Regions from separate parts of the Homo sapiens genome. Here region 1 is linked to region 2. The links are contacts of gene promoters, found by promoter capture Hi-C in blood cells and fetal thymus (Javierre and others, 2016). All regions are on one chromosome and are shown on one strand. The core of a region is centred on a gene start or on the middle of the fragment in contact, and the rest is flanking DNA. Distances in the headings are between cores, read along the strand shown.

Evidence for each region. Contacts are between HindIII fragments. The CHiCAGO score rates a contact against its expected background, and 5 or more counts as called.
Region 1: a contact is called between a fragment that was not itself captured here and the fragment with the promoter of DNAH10OS in region 2, in 1 of 17 cell types (naive B cells). The highest score is 6.0, in naive B cells.

Annotation. Positions count from the first base shown.
Region 1 is chr12:124,752,349-124,758,771 of GRCh38, reverse strand. No RefSeq gene overlaps it. Among named protein-coding and RNA genes, the nearest start is that of SCARB1, 110 kb to the left of the region's middle. RefSeq lists enhancers at 1-171, 172-673, 3,158-3,247, 2,617-3,519. The HindIII fragment of the contact is 7,631 bases long and covers 1-6,423 here.
Region 2 is chr12:123,933,677-123,940,115 of GRCh38, reverse strand. DNAH10OS (dynein axonemal heavy chain 10 opposite strand) reads left to right here and starts at 5,132. Exons shown (of 2, transcript NR_187476.1): 1 at 5,132-6,051. DNAH10 (dynein axonemal heavy chain 10) reads right to left here. Exons shown (of 79, transcript NM_001372106.1): 78 at 5,350-5,495; 79 at 4,402-4,781. The coding sequence ends at 4,635. It overlaps CCDC92 (coiled-coil domain containing 92), which reads left to right. Exons shown (of 5, transcript NM_025140.3): 5 at 2,286-4,490. The coding sequence ends at 3,058. RefSeq lists enhancers at 1,066-1,566, 1,567-2,067. The HindIII fragment of the contact is 4,091 bases long and covers 1,151-5,241 here.

The sequences.
Region 1 (6,423 bases), core at 2,225-4,724, 820 kb before region 2:
TATTTCTCTTCTCCGGAGTGATGGATGCCAAGGGATGATCCTGCTTGATGGATGAGGGGTCTCGCCGGTGCGGGGAGGCCAGCTGGGGCAGGGGCGCCGGCTGCCTGACCAGGTGGCGACATGCTGATGGGGTTGGCAGGAGGATTTTGGCTGCCTTCGGCCAGGGCTGGGATCAGCAAATTTGTTTTCCACTGATGCGTTGAAGGTGGCCCCAGGGGCGTCATGGCTCCGGTTGGGCAGGGCATCTTCTGCAGCTGGCGGCCCCGCTGATTGGGTAGGGAGTGGGCTGACAGTTGGCAGAAGTCCTCCTTCCTGCCACTGCGTGAGTCCCTGGGGAGCCGGGCTAATGATGGAGTGGCGTACCCTTGGTCAACCTCCGTTTCTGCATCGCTGCCCAAGAGGGAGCCAGCTTTGGAAAGGGCAGCGGAGACAGCCGGTCGCCTGCTGGCGACTCCTGGTGACGGGGGCATCTGCACTGCAGTGTGGAGGAGGGACCTCGCCTCTCACTGCCCTGCTTAATTGCATGCTCGGCTGACATCTCTTCTGCACTGCTGCCTCAGTGATCTTTCTCAAGTGCAAATCTGCTCATGTAGCTCCCGGCTAAAATCCCCCAGGCCCTCAGAATAAGGTCCCAGCTCTGAAATGGGGGGCACAGGGCCCTGCATGATCCGGCTCCAGCACAAATTTCCCAAAGGCCTTGCAATTCTTCCAAGCAGCCAGGCTGTGACATCCACGCACTCCCCGCCACCCAGCCACGGCATTTATCCTTGTTTTTTCCACCCGGAACTTCTTCTGTTCCTGCCTGGATGCAACCCCCAATCTGTCTTCTCCCCCTTCTTCTTCGGGCCTCTATTTTGATCACTCCTCCTCCGGGAAGACTTCCTTGATCTCTCAAGCCTTGGCTGTGTGCTCTTGCCATAGGCTATGCCTGGGCTCTTCACTTAATCACGTGTAGTGAGCACTTGGGTCTTAATCTTTCTCTCTCTTCTGAGCTGTGGGCTTCACGAAGGCTTTGCTGAAGCTCTATCCCTGGTTACAGAGTGGGTGTTTCACAAGGTTGTGTTGGAACACCTGAATATGCGAGTAAACAGATGGGGCCTTTTATATGAGTTTGTATCAGTTATCTATTGACAAAATAATGCTGCATAACAAATCACCTCAAATATCAGTGACCTCAAACAATAATCATTTATTAGGCTCATGCATCTGCAGGTCAGTGATTGAGGCTGGGCTTGGCTGGGCGGTTCTTCTGTCTCGGCTGGGTGGTTCTTCTGTTTCAGCTGGGCTCGCTTGCATGTCTGGGGGTGGCTGGCTATTGGTTGCTCCAGGGTGGCCTTAGCTGGGATTGCTGGGAGAGCTCTGCTTTGCTCTGCACATCTCTCCTCCAGCTGGCTAGCCTGGGTAGGATCTGAGATGATGGCAGAGGTGGAAGAGTACAAGCAGTTGCTCCAGGCTTTTCAAGGCCCACCTTGGCACTAGCACATTGTTACTTTTATCAGCTGACACCAGTCACAAGGCCATTTCAGATTCAAGGGGTGGGGGAGTAACTTTACCTCTTTGGTGAGAGGAATTGCAAAGCCACACAGCAAAGGGCATGCATACAGGGTGAGGTATAAACTTGGGGCCATCAACACAATCTATCAGGGAGGTTAAGTCAAGTCCTTACAACAGTGCAGTGGGTGTCCAAAAGGTGCCGTCCAAGCATGGCAACTCTTCTGATGGTGACAACAATGATGGTGTTCCGCTTTTTAAAATTGTGGCAAAATACATCTAACATAACATTTACCATCTTAACCATTTTCGAGTGTACAGTTCAGGGGCATTGAGTACATTCACACTGTTGTGCAACAGATCTCCAGAACTTTTTCATCTTGCAGAACTGAAACTCTGTCCCCATTAAACAAGCACTCCCATTTCTCTCTCCCTAGCCCCTGGCAATTGCCATTCTACTTTCTGTCTCTATGAATTTGATGACTCTAGCTACCTCCTCTAAGTGGAATCAAACAGTATTTGTCCTTTTGTGACTGGCTTATTTCACTTAGCATAATGTCCTCAAGGTTCATCCATTGGGTTAGCACATGACAGGGTTTTCTTCCTTTTCCTGGCTGGATAATATTCCATTGTATGGATGGACCACAGTTTGTTTATCCATCCATCTGTCCGTCCGTCCGTCCATCCATCCATCCATCTATCCATCCATCCACAAACCCTTATGTTGCCTCCACCTTTGAGCTCTTGTGAATCAACACATCAGGCTGCTATAAACTTCAGTGTGCATATATTTCTTTGAGATTCTCTTTTCTGTTCTTTCGGATATAAACCGAGAAGTGGAAGCTGAGCATGGTGACTCAGCCTGTAACCCCAGTACTTTGGGAGACAGATGTAGAAGGACTGCTTGAGCCCAGCAGTTTGAGACCAGTCTGGGCAACATCTCGAGACCTTGTCTCCAATAAAAATTTAAAAACTAGCTGGGCGTGGTGGCACATGCCTGTGGTCCCAGCTACTTGGGAGGCAGAAGTGGGAGAATCACTTGAACCCAGGAGGTCGAGGCTGCAGTGAGCCATGATCACGCTGTTGCACTCCAGCCTGGGTGACAGAGTGTGATCCTGTCTCAAATAAATAAATAAATAAATAAAACCCAGAAGTGGGTTTGCTGGATCTTAGATGGTGTGGCTTTTCGGCTTGCAGGAAAGGCCTGTGGAACACAAATGCCGATCCATGGGTTAACAGAGCAGCTGTTTACGGGGCAGATCTGAGGTCAGGTTGCCTGGTTTGGACCCCAGATCCTCTGCTTCCTGATTATGCTTCCTCCGTGAAGCCACCCACTCTGAGCCTCAGTTTCCTCCTCTGTGCAATGGGCGTGATACTAAGACCTATCCGTAGAGTGTGAGGACTAAACGGGTAAGGTGCTTACAACAGTGCCTGATGCATAGCCAGCTCTCAACACACAATACCCACATGTTGTTTTCCGGTGATCAGTGCCTTTGACACCGCCTTAGCCCCCCTGGAATGAAAGCACTGTAGTTGATGGCCGGCTGGCAGCAGTGTTCTTCTTCACTGTGGGAATACACCCAGAGTTTATCTCCTCCGGGCAAACCACAGGGACGACTGGGTTCATATTTGGTTACAGGTGCTGACACCACATCCCCTCTGCTGGGGTGTCTGGCCGGGGCCTTCGAGGGGTTGGAGCTGGTGCTAAGTTGGCGTTTAGCAGGGTGGGAGGGATGCTCCTTCTGCCGCTGTTCAGCTCTCTCTTTCCTAGGCCTGCTCTTCCCCCTCCACCCCTCCGCACAGATTGCAATTTCGGCCGCGGCAGGAAGAGAGGAATGAGCTTGCATAATAGAGGAACATTTGGTTCTTTCAGGCTGGGCCTGGAGAGGGGGAAGGCTTTTGTGCTGAAGTGTGCACCACGGGGGCAGACTCGAGAGGTTTCCTGTGTGCTGGGGCTGGGAGGAGCTTTGTGCATGGGAGGGATGGCCGCACTGAGGTCCAGATGGACGTGGGGGTGGGGACCGCTCCCCCAGGGAAGGGCAGATGGGGAGGGTGACTTTGCTGCTTCTCAGAGATGGGAAGCAGGGCAAGAGGAAAACCGCATAGGGCAGGGATGGGAGGCCCAGGCAGGGCTGGGCCTCGGGCGCCCTGGGCCATGCACATGGCCCCAGCAGACTGTTCTCTCCCCAGGGCCTTTTGGGCCACTTCCTGCACACCCCAGAGAGGTCTGTGGCCTCAGCATGGAGTTAAACCTGTGCCTTCCTGATCCAAGGGGATGGTTTTGAGCTGTGAGGGGGCCTCTCCAGGACCACTGAGTCAGAGGAGAGAGAGATGGGTGTGCAAACACGGCCAGTGCCAGCAGGTCTCTCCCCAGATGTGACAACCCTCACCCGAACCGGACCCCTGGCACTGCTGATCATCAGGGTCAGAGATGGGACATTCATTCCCACTGGATATTTAAAAGCCAGAGCAGGGGTCTGCACCGTGAGTCTTTGAGGGGCTTCCATAACTTCCAATGCCATGTCTGGGTCTCTGACCTGGCTCAATCCTCACAGCAGAGGGAGGCCAGGGGCAGCTAGCCAGGCTTTCCACAAGGATTTGCTGTGCATTGACTCTGTCCTGGGCCCCGTTCTAGATGCTGGGATACAGCCGTGAACAAAGCAGACAGAGATCCAGGTGCTCCGAGGTTTATTCTAGTGGAGAAGGAGGTGGACACGGATCAAGTCAACATCAAGGCACAGACAATGGCATTGTGGGGGTACACAGCCAGCCTCAATTCCTCACCACCCCCCACATCTGTGCCCTTTACCGGGTGGCAAAGAAGTAGAGTGCATTTCCCCACCTCTTGACTTTAGGTCTGGCCATGTGACTTGCTTTGGCCATAAGAAGGCAATGGAAATGAGGCTGTGCTAGTATTGGCCCTATCCCTTCAGGGACCTTGTATTATGCTGTGCCTCTGTCACTGGGTGAGACAAACAGGCCCTGGGTTAACTTGCTGATCCAAAGAGGAAGAGAGACAGGTGGGCAGCCCAGCCCAGCCTGGATCAGGTGACTCCCAGCCAACTGGCAGACACGGAAATGATAATGAGTGATTGCAGGTGGGAATCTTTTGTTACGCAGCATGTCGGCAGCAATAGCTAACTGATATAATCAGCTACTGCTAAGTGCTGTTATTAATGCCTTTTTATAGGCAAGAAAACTGAGACCTGCAGAGGTGAAGAAGCTGTCTTGAAGTTAGAGATGGCTGCGCCCAGACAAGAAGCCAGCTGTGCTAACTCCAGGTGGATTGTTCATTCATCCAGCCCATTTTTACCAAGCACCTACCATGTGCCTGTAATTGTGCTAGAAACTGAGGTAATTCAACGGAAAAGTTCCTTCTGTGAGCAACCTGTTAGAAGAGAGAACTCCTTTTTTCCTAGAGTTTCAGCAGAAGTCTGAGGTTTGGGTCCCATCAGCCTGGTGTGGGTCACCTGCCTGCTCTGAGCTAGTCATGGCTGCAAAAGAATGTGAAGCTCTGATTGACCAGGGTAGGTCACGTGTTCATGCTCCTCCCTGTAACTGGGAGAAGGGATGACCCCATCGGAACCAGACAGACTGAGAGCGGAGGAGAGATGGTTTTCCCAGAGAAAAAGGGGTGCTATTAAACCCCAAGAAGGGGAAATAGGTGCTGGGCCGATAAAAAAGAACAATGTATACTCCAGAGCTCCGGGGCCCTAATAAAGACCCCTGCAGCTCTCTGCTCCTTAGTGAATCCCCCCAAGGTCCAGGGCTGCTCCAACCCCCAAGGTCCAGGGCTGTGCCAACCTCCCCTGCCTCCGACACTCCTCGTGGGCGCTCTGCCTGGCTCTCGGAAGATCAGATGTGATTTATTCCTGGCATCTGTGCCGCCGCTTGCCGTGAGGTGCTTTGCAGCAGAACAATAAGTTACAGGGCCATTTATCTTGTTGGCGGCTTCGGATAAAATGAGCAGTCTGTGCAGACAGGGCCTTTAACGAACATGATCAGGGCTGTTCATTTAGAAACCAGGAGGCCTTGACATTGGCTTTAATTGAAGTGGTTAGCAGTAAGGGGCTTGGCTGGGTTTGTTCAGAATGGAGGGTTGCAGCAAAGGGCAGACCTGTCTTTGAGTCTTGTCTGTGCCTCTACTCTGTGTTTGACTTTGGGTAACCTTGGTGATCTCTTCCACACTTTGTTTCCTCACCTGTGAAACGGAGATGTATCAGTCAGTATCGGCTCAGTTGTGTTGCAGTAACAAACAACTCCAAAATCTCATGGTTTTCTAACAACCAACGTTTGTCTCTCACCCGTGCTATGTGTCTGCTGTGTGTTGGCAATGGGCTCTGTGCCATGTCTTCTCACTCTGGGATGCAGAGGGGGCCTCTGCCATGTGGAGCATCATCGGGCTTGAGGCAGGCTGTGCACTGCTTCTTAGAGCTTCTTCTTAGATGCAACTTACATCACTTCTGCTGACATCTCATTGGCCCAGGCAAGCCACACGGCCATGCCTGACTTCTGGTGGGGGACGGGCATAGAGATGAGAAATCCTGCCTGTGACTGTTAGCAGGAAAGCTGGAGAATTATTATTTATTAGAGAGAGCAGTTCTGCTGAGCCATCGTAGAGTCAGGGTTTTTTTTTTTTTTTCCTTGTCCCTCCTGGGGCTGCTAATCATCTGAGCCGAATCCATTCTGTTTTTCGCTGCCAGATTAATCATTTTCCTTGTGCCTCTGCCACATCACTCCATCTGCTGTGAACTTGAGTGCCTGCTGCAGGGCATTGAAGCTGGTCAGCCTGGCACTCAAAGAACCCCTGGGCTGGCACCTCTCAAGATAGTCAAAGCTGAGTCAGAGAGGGCAGAGACTAGGTATTTCTCACTCCCCACTTCGTCTCCAGCTTCCAGAACTGGCATACAGTAGGTGCTCAGTAATTATTTG
Region 2 (6,439 bases), core at 3,883-6,382:
CAGCCTTGTTCCTGAATGTTCCAAACGTCCATCAGCCTTTTGCAGCACTGCCTGGGGGAAGAAAAATCCCAGGATGCTCACAGCAGGCCAGGGATGTGGTTGAAGGTCTGAGGTTGCAGCCCTTCCTCGGAAGGAGCCCAAGGCCCACTGTCCACCCGAGTGTGGGCTGAAAGCAAAGGCCCTGCGACAGGCATGGGTTGTTGTCCCACAGGCCCTGGGGGAAGGACAGCGGGTACCAGGCCCAATGCCGTGCCCAGGTCAGCATTTCAGGTTGCAGGGGTTCAGCCCAGGTGGCTGGGCTCCTGGGTCTTACAGTGTCTACAGAGTCGTGTGTGTGTCTCTGTCCCTCTCTCTACCTCTGAAACTGTGTTTTAGGATCTATTTTCCTTTTGGCAAAAGAAGAAACCTCATGAAAGGTAGTACTGCATGCATCCTTTTTAGGGAGGTCATTTGCTGACATTATACCTGCACATACACACACAGACACATGGTTTTTAAAACTAGAAACTTGCAATGGTTCAACTTAAAATTTTTCAACTGCATGGGGCAATACCCATTCAGTACACTCCTCGACTTACCATGGATATGTCCAGATAAACCCATGGTAAGCTGAAAATATCGAAAACACACTTTTGACTTACGGTATTTTCAACTTACATTGGATTTTTCGGGACATGACCCCATGCTAAGTCGAGGAGCGCCCATCACCTGCAGCGAGCTTGTAACATGCAAGTGTCCTGCACAAGACCAGTCCAGTCAGCTGTGGGCCCTCAAAAGCTCAGAGTCTGGCGGCGGGACATGCTGCAGAGCTGCTGCTAGCTCAGGCAGGTGGGAAAATTCAAAGCAAGACAGACAGAAGCCCGGGAAAGACGTCCAGTGGCGTCCAGTGCCTAGGCAGGCCCTGGGTGGTGGAGTTGGTACAGGGAAACTGGGCGTGCAGGTCTGGAGTTAGGGCAAGGACAGAGGGTACAATAGAGACAGAACAAGAGGTGGTGGCTTGGGGAGAGTGATGGAAGCTTTGATTTATGTGGGAGCAGATAACATTCAGGACAGATTGAGGAACTGGAAGGCATCTGGCAGTTTGGGTTTTATTAGGCAGTGAGGAACCATTTTGAACAGAGGACAAGAATATTTAGGGGGTGACCAAGCTTCCTAAATACAGGATGGGCTGAAACGAAGACCAGAGAGGAGGTGGGACCAAGGCCGGCTGGAGGAGCAGGGAGGGGGCAGCACTGAGCAGCCAGCAGAAAGGCACAGTCAGGGAGGGGAGGCCAGGGATGGCGACTGCATCCAGTTTCCCTGGGAGAGTCAAGATGTGGGAAGCAGAGCAGCTATCTGGACTTGAGGGTGTGTCTGACGGACACTCACTTGGAGAAGTGGTGCTCAGGAGACACTGAATCGGGAGCTGATGCTCAAGTTGAATTCCAGACCAGCAAGGAAGAGTCTAGAAAGAACTTCCCAGGGGCCAGGCAAGGAGGATGGCCAGCCAGCCAGCGTTAGGAGGAGTAGGATGGTGACCCAGGGTTTAGAGCCAAGGGTGCTATGTGAGGTGACCAGGGACTGCAGGTCACCAGAAGAGCAGGAGAAGGAGGTGGCTGGTGTTTGCTGAAGGACTGGGTGAGGGCAGGCACCCAGGGACAGCAAAAGGAGGCAGAGGCCCGAAGTGTTAGGGCAGGGGCAGGGAGGGACCAAGGGTAAGAGCCACAGAGGCGAGACAGCTCACTCTCTGAGCAGGAAGTGGGAAAGAGTCTGTGTGTGTGTGTGTGTGAGAGAGACGGGGGTAGGGGGGTGAGAGAGGCGGCCAGCGGCAGAGCAAAGGTGACAGCCCCACACCTCTTCTCCTCTAAACATCAGAATTTTAATTCAATAGACATGGATAATTCTTTTTACATTTGAGTTTCAAAACAGTACTTTGAATGTAGCAGGCATTCCATAAATGCCATCTGAGCAGACAGAGGGATTTGCGGCCAGTTGAATCCTAAGTGTTTGCTGAGGTCTGATACTCTGCAATTGCCTGTTTTAAGTTCAGCATCTTTAAGGTTCAGAGACATTCTTTTATGCAGTAGGCCAGAGAACTAAGAGCCGGAAAGGGCCTCTGAGATGCCCCGATCTCCCCACCTCGGGGAGGGGAGGGGTCTTTCCAGAGCCCCCACAGCCCTGCCTTCTGCATGGCCCCCACAGCCTAGACAGGGCCCCCACCAGACAGGTCCGCCTGCCCCATAGGCCTCACCACTCGGCCTCAGTCTAATGAGTTCTTCACCTGCTTCCTCGGCTTATTCTTGTAGGAGACGGGACTTCTAAAAGCAGTGAATTAAAGAAAAGATGTGAAGAGCTGGAAGCCCAACTGAAAGTGAAAGAGAACGAAAATGCTGAGTTGTTGAAAGAACTGGAGCAGAAAAACGCGATGATCACAGTGCTGGAGAACACCATCAAGGAGCGAGAGAAGAAGTACCTGGAGGAGCTGAAGGCCAAGAGTCACAAGCTGACCCTGCTGTCTAGCGAGCTGGAGCAGCGGGCCAGCACCATCGCCTACCTGACCTCCCAGCTGCACGCCGCCAAGAAGAAGCTCATGAGCTCCAGCGGGACCTCAGATGCCAGCCCGTCAGGGAGCCCCGTGCTGGCCAGCTACAAGCCAGCGCCCCCCAAAGACAAGCTACCCGAAACGCCTCGCCGCCGCATGAAAAAGAGCCTCTCAGCCCCCTTGCACCCGGAATTTGAAGAGGTCTACAGATTCGGGGCAGAGAGCAGGAAACTCCTTTTGCGGGAACCAGTGGATGCTATGCCCGACCCCACCCCATTTCTGCTGGCTAGGGAGTCCGCCGAGGTCCACCTCATCAAAGAGAGGCCCCTCGTCATCCCCCCCATCGCCTCCGACCGAAGCGGCGAGCAGCACAGCCCGGCCCGCGAAAAGCCGCACAAGGCCCACGTCGGGGTGGCACATCGGATCCACCACGCCACCCCGCCGCAGGCCCAGCCCGAGGTGAAGACCCTGGCGGTCGACCAGGTGAACGGAGGCAAGGTGGTGAGGAAGCACTCAGGGACGGACAGAACTGTGTGAAGCCCGCCGTGCCCCACCCCGCGCTGTCCATGCACTGTGAGCACCACTGGGAAATCTCAGCCACACCTTTTCTGTTTAATCCCATGCATGCCAAACACTTTTCACACCTACCGACCCATTCTCCTTCTGCTTCTCTTGCCCTCTTCTTCACACCAAAATATGATCGTGTCCCTGCCGCAGAATATGTATTTCCTAATTGCTGTGGCCAAACGCCTGTGTGCCGAATCGCTTGCTTCTGATCCCGCTCCGTGTAACCTAAGTGCGCTGCAGGCAAAGCCCAGGCCACGGCTGCGTCACTACTGATGTTCACGATGCCACACAGTCACACACCTAATTCATTCTCAAGTCGGAGCAACACATACCAACCTTGACCTTATCCTCAAGCTCCAGGGCAGCCTGGCCGAGCAGCCCCTGCTCCCTCCTGGAGACCCTTGTCACCTCCCGAGCTCCTCCTGGAGACCCCTGTCACCTCCTGACCAACCTTTCCCAGGGCGGCACCGATCACCGAGCAGCCGTGCGTGTATCTCAAGGAACTAAATAAGATGACGCTACTCCTCATAGCACCACAACCTGAATGTGTGTTCATATTTTTTTGTTAGTTTTATCCAAAATGTTTAAGATCCCAACAAACTTTATTTTCTAAACCTGCCTTCCTTCTGTTTTGTGTCTTTTATTAAACAAACACCTGAAGGAGGGCTAGGAGACTGCAGGAGGGAGAGCAATCACAGGTCCCAGAAGCGACTCCGGCCTCCTCCCGGCCCAGAGCTAGTCCTTAGAATGTGCTGCGCTCCTGAGCTTCTGTGGGAAGCTGCTTTTGCCTCTGATGGCCCCTGCCCACTGTGCTGCCCGTGCTAGCCCCTCTCCTCCCTCATGGAGTGAAGCCACCCCTCACCTCCAGGTGGCCAGCCAGGGCTCCAGGCCAGCCTCATGGTGCACAGAGGGAAGGGGTGCCCAGTGACCACTGGTCCTGGAGGTTCTGTGTCCTTACCTGACCCCACACAGACCCAGGCAGGCTGGGGGTAGAAGCTCATGCAGGAACTAAACACTAAGCTCAACAACTTCACAGTCGCCGTAGCAGGTCAGAGCCAAAGAAGCTAGGGCCAGAGAGTTCTGGAAGGGGGAGAAGTGGCTCCAGGTGACTGGTCACTTCTGCTCTGTGCCCGACATCATCAGCCCTTCTTGCCAAAAAGGAGCATCTGCTGAAACAGACCTGGATCATCGAAAACACACCTTTGGAAATTACATTAGGATTCTCACTTGTGCCAATGCTATGTATGCCAGGCACTTTTGCCTAATCAAGTGTTTTCTCTGAGAAGGAAAAGAAAACTCCACACATCTTAAAATACTCTCCAATATTTACTTTTTGATTATATAAATTCCTTTTAAAAAGTAGTATTAAAAACAAAACCATTCAGGTTAATTTGTATGGAAAGAGATTTAAGTGGCTGATTTCAAATGAAAAATCAGTGTCAGTCCCCCTCCTGCCTCTTGAGAGGCCCCAAGAAATGACAGCAGACCCGATCACTCTGACAACCCCAGGCTCCGAATTCATTAAGCAGTTTTCTTCACCCAAAGGTTAATCAGAATTCAGGGTGAGGCATACTCCTTGCAGCACCCAGTGAGAAATGTGCCTCGTGGTAAAGAGATCAGCTTCAAAAACCAAGCCGACTCCCATGGCGTTCCTTCTCATGGAGGTGGTGTAGACGGGGGTCCGGAAAGTATTCTGCAAGGGAAAGGCAGGTGAGATGCCCCCACGGAGAGAGGGTGCAGAGGGATAAAGGCAGAGGTGCAGTGTAAGTCTTGACAGGCAGGGGCCCCTGTGCAAGACTGCACCTGAGAACACGCACAAGGCTGGGGCTGCTCAGGGCCACCCTCCGCCAGCTTCACGGGGACCTGGCTTCACACTGACACCCTGGTTAAAAGTGGGTCCTGGCCCAGGCAGAGCAGAAGACATCTGCTGTCCACACCAGCGGGAACCACTTTATGACTCAGGCAATGTCTGCAGCATTTTGCAAGAAGGGAGGGAGTCTCCCCTTGGTTAGTCTAGACCACAGGATCACAGCTTGAGCCTGACACCTCTGGAAGGACCGGCATCCACACACACATACAGCCGCGCCTTTTCCAGGAAGCAGCTATCCGTAGCTTTTATCACGGCTCCAAGACTCTCCCCAGCCCATAAAGCTTAGGCACCCCTGTTTTAAAAAGTAGGACTGTTGGAAACCACCTCAGCCATAACTACAGTCAGAAGAGGAAGGGCCCTGGTGTCAGAGAGGAGGGGCTGGGACCTTCACCTGCAGCTTGAGGCGATGGGCTTCAATGGGGATGATCTTCAGGATCGGCAGGTCCACAACCAGCACCTTGGGTTTGCTCTTGATAAGACATCCTTTTTCTATATCCCAGTCAGCACCTTCCAGGTACAGTCCTGAGACAAAGCATCCTAGGGACACAAGGCAGAGACTGGATACAACTGGAGCATGCACAGCCTGCCACGGAGTGGCTCTATCAGGCGCACACACAGCGACACACAGGCCACTGGCTGGCCTCCTCCCCAGCGCATTGGGGACAGCCCAGGCCCTTCTCCAGCATTTCTGTCCTGCCCACCTTCCCTCTGTGGAGGAGCAGCCCAGACAGGAGACCCTGTGGCCCTGCCCCATGGCCCAGAGAAATGGGTGTGGGGCGGTGGCCTCTCCCCCAGGAATCCTCATTCCTGGGGCATCAAGGCCCACGGACTTAGACCACCCTGGGCCCCCAGGCTAGAAAGATGCATGGTCCCAGAGTCAGAATGGGCACCATGGCAACCCCAGCTACCCTGTGAGCCGAAGTGGCTGGGGAGCAGGAAGTCGAAGCCTCACAGAGAAAGTGGTCTCCGGGGAGGAGGACCCAGCAGATGTGCAAAGAGAGGAACACACTCCTGTGGCCCCAGAGAGAGTGGTGGCCCGGACACCTGCCACCTCCCCTGCCACTGAGACCTGGAGAGTCCCTGCATCTTTACCGTAAGTCCCCAGTCCTTAAGCCATCTCAAAAGAGCTTTTGTTCCTTGCAGTTAAAAGAACTCTAAGACAACATGGACCCGGGGAAACAGCAGTTTCCAGCTCTCATTTGCACAGTCAGTAACCAATGTCTAAGGGACCTGAAGTTCTGGCATAATCAAAGAGTTCCAACCAAGTTAGTCCATGCTGCTCTGTGGCTCCCATGCCCCTGGCCCCGTCAGGGGTTACAAGAAAGCCACCTGATGGTTTTTGCAAGAGCTAATTCTGACCTAGGAGCCCACTTGCCATGAGCTAGCAGAGTGAACATGGTTCAGGTCTCCCCTGCCATAGACCCCAGGTCTCAACGGAGAAAGTGGAAGAGAAACTTCCGTATCCACCCTCAGAGGTGTTA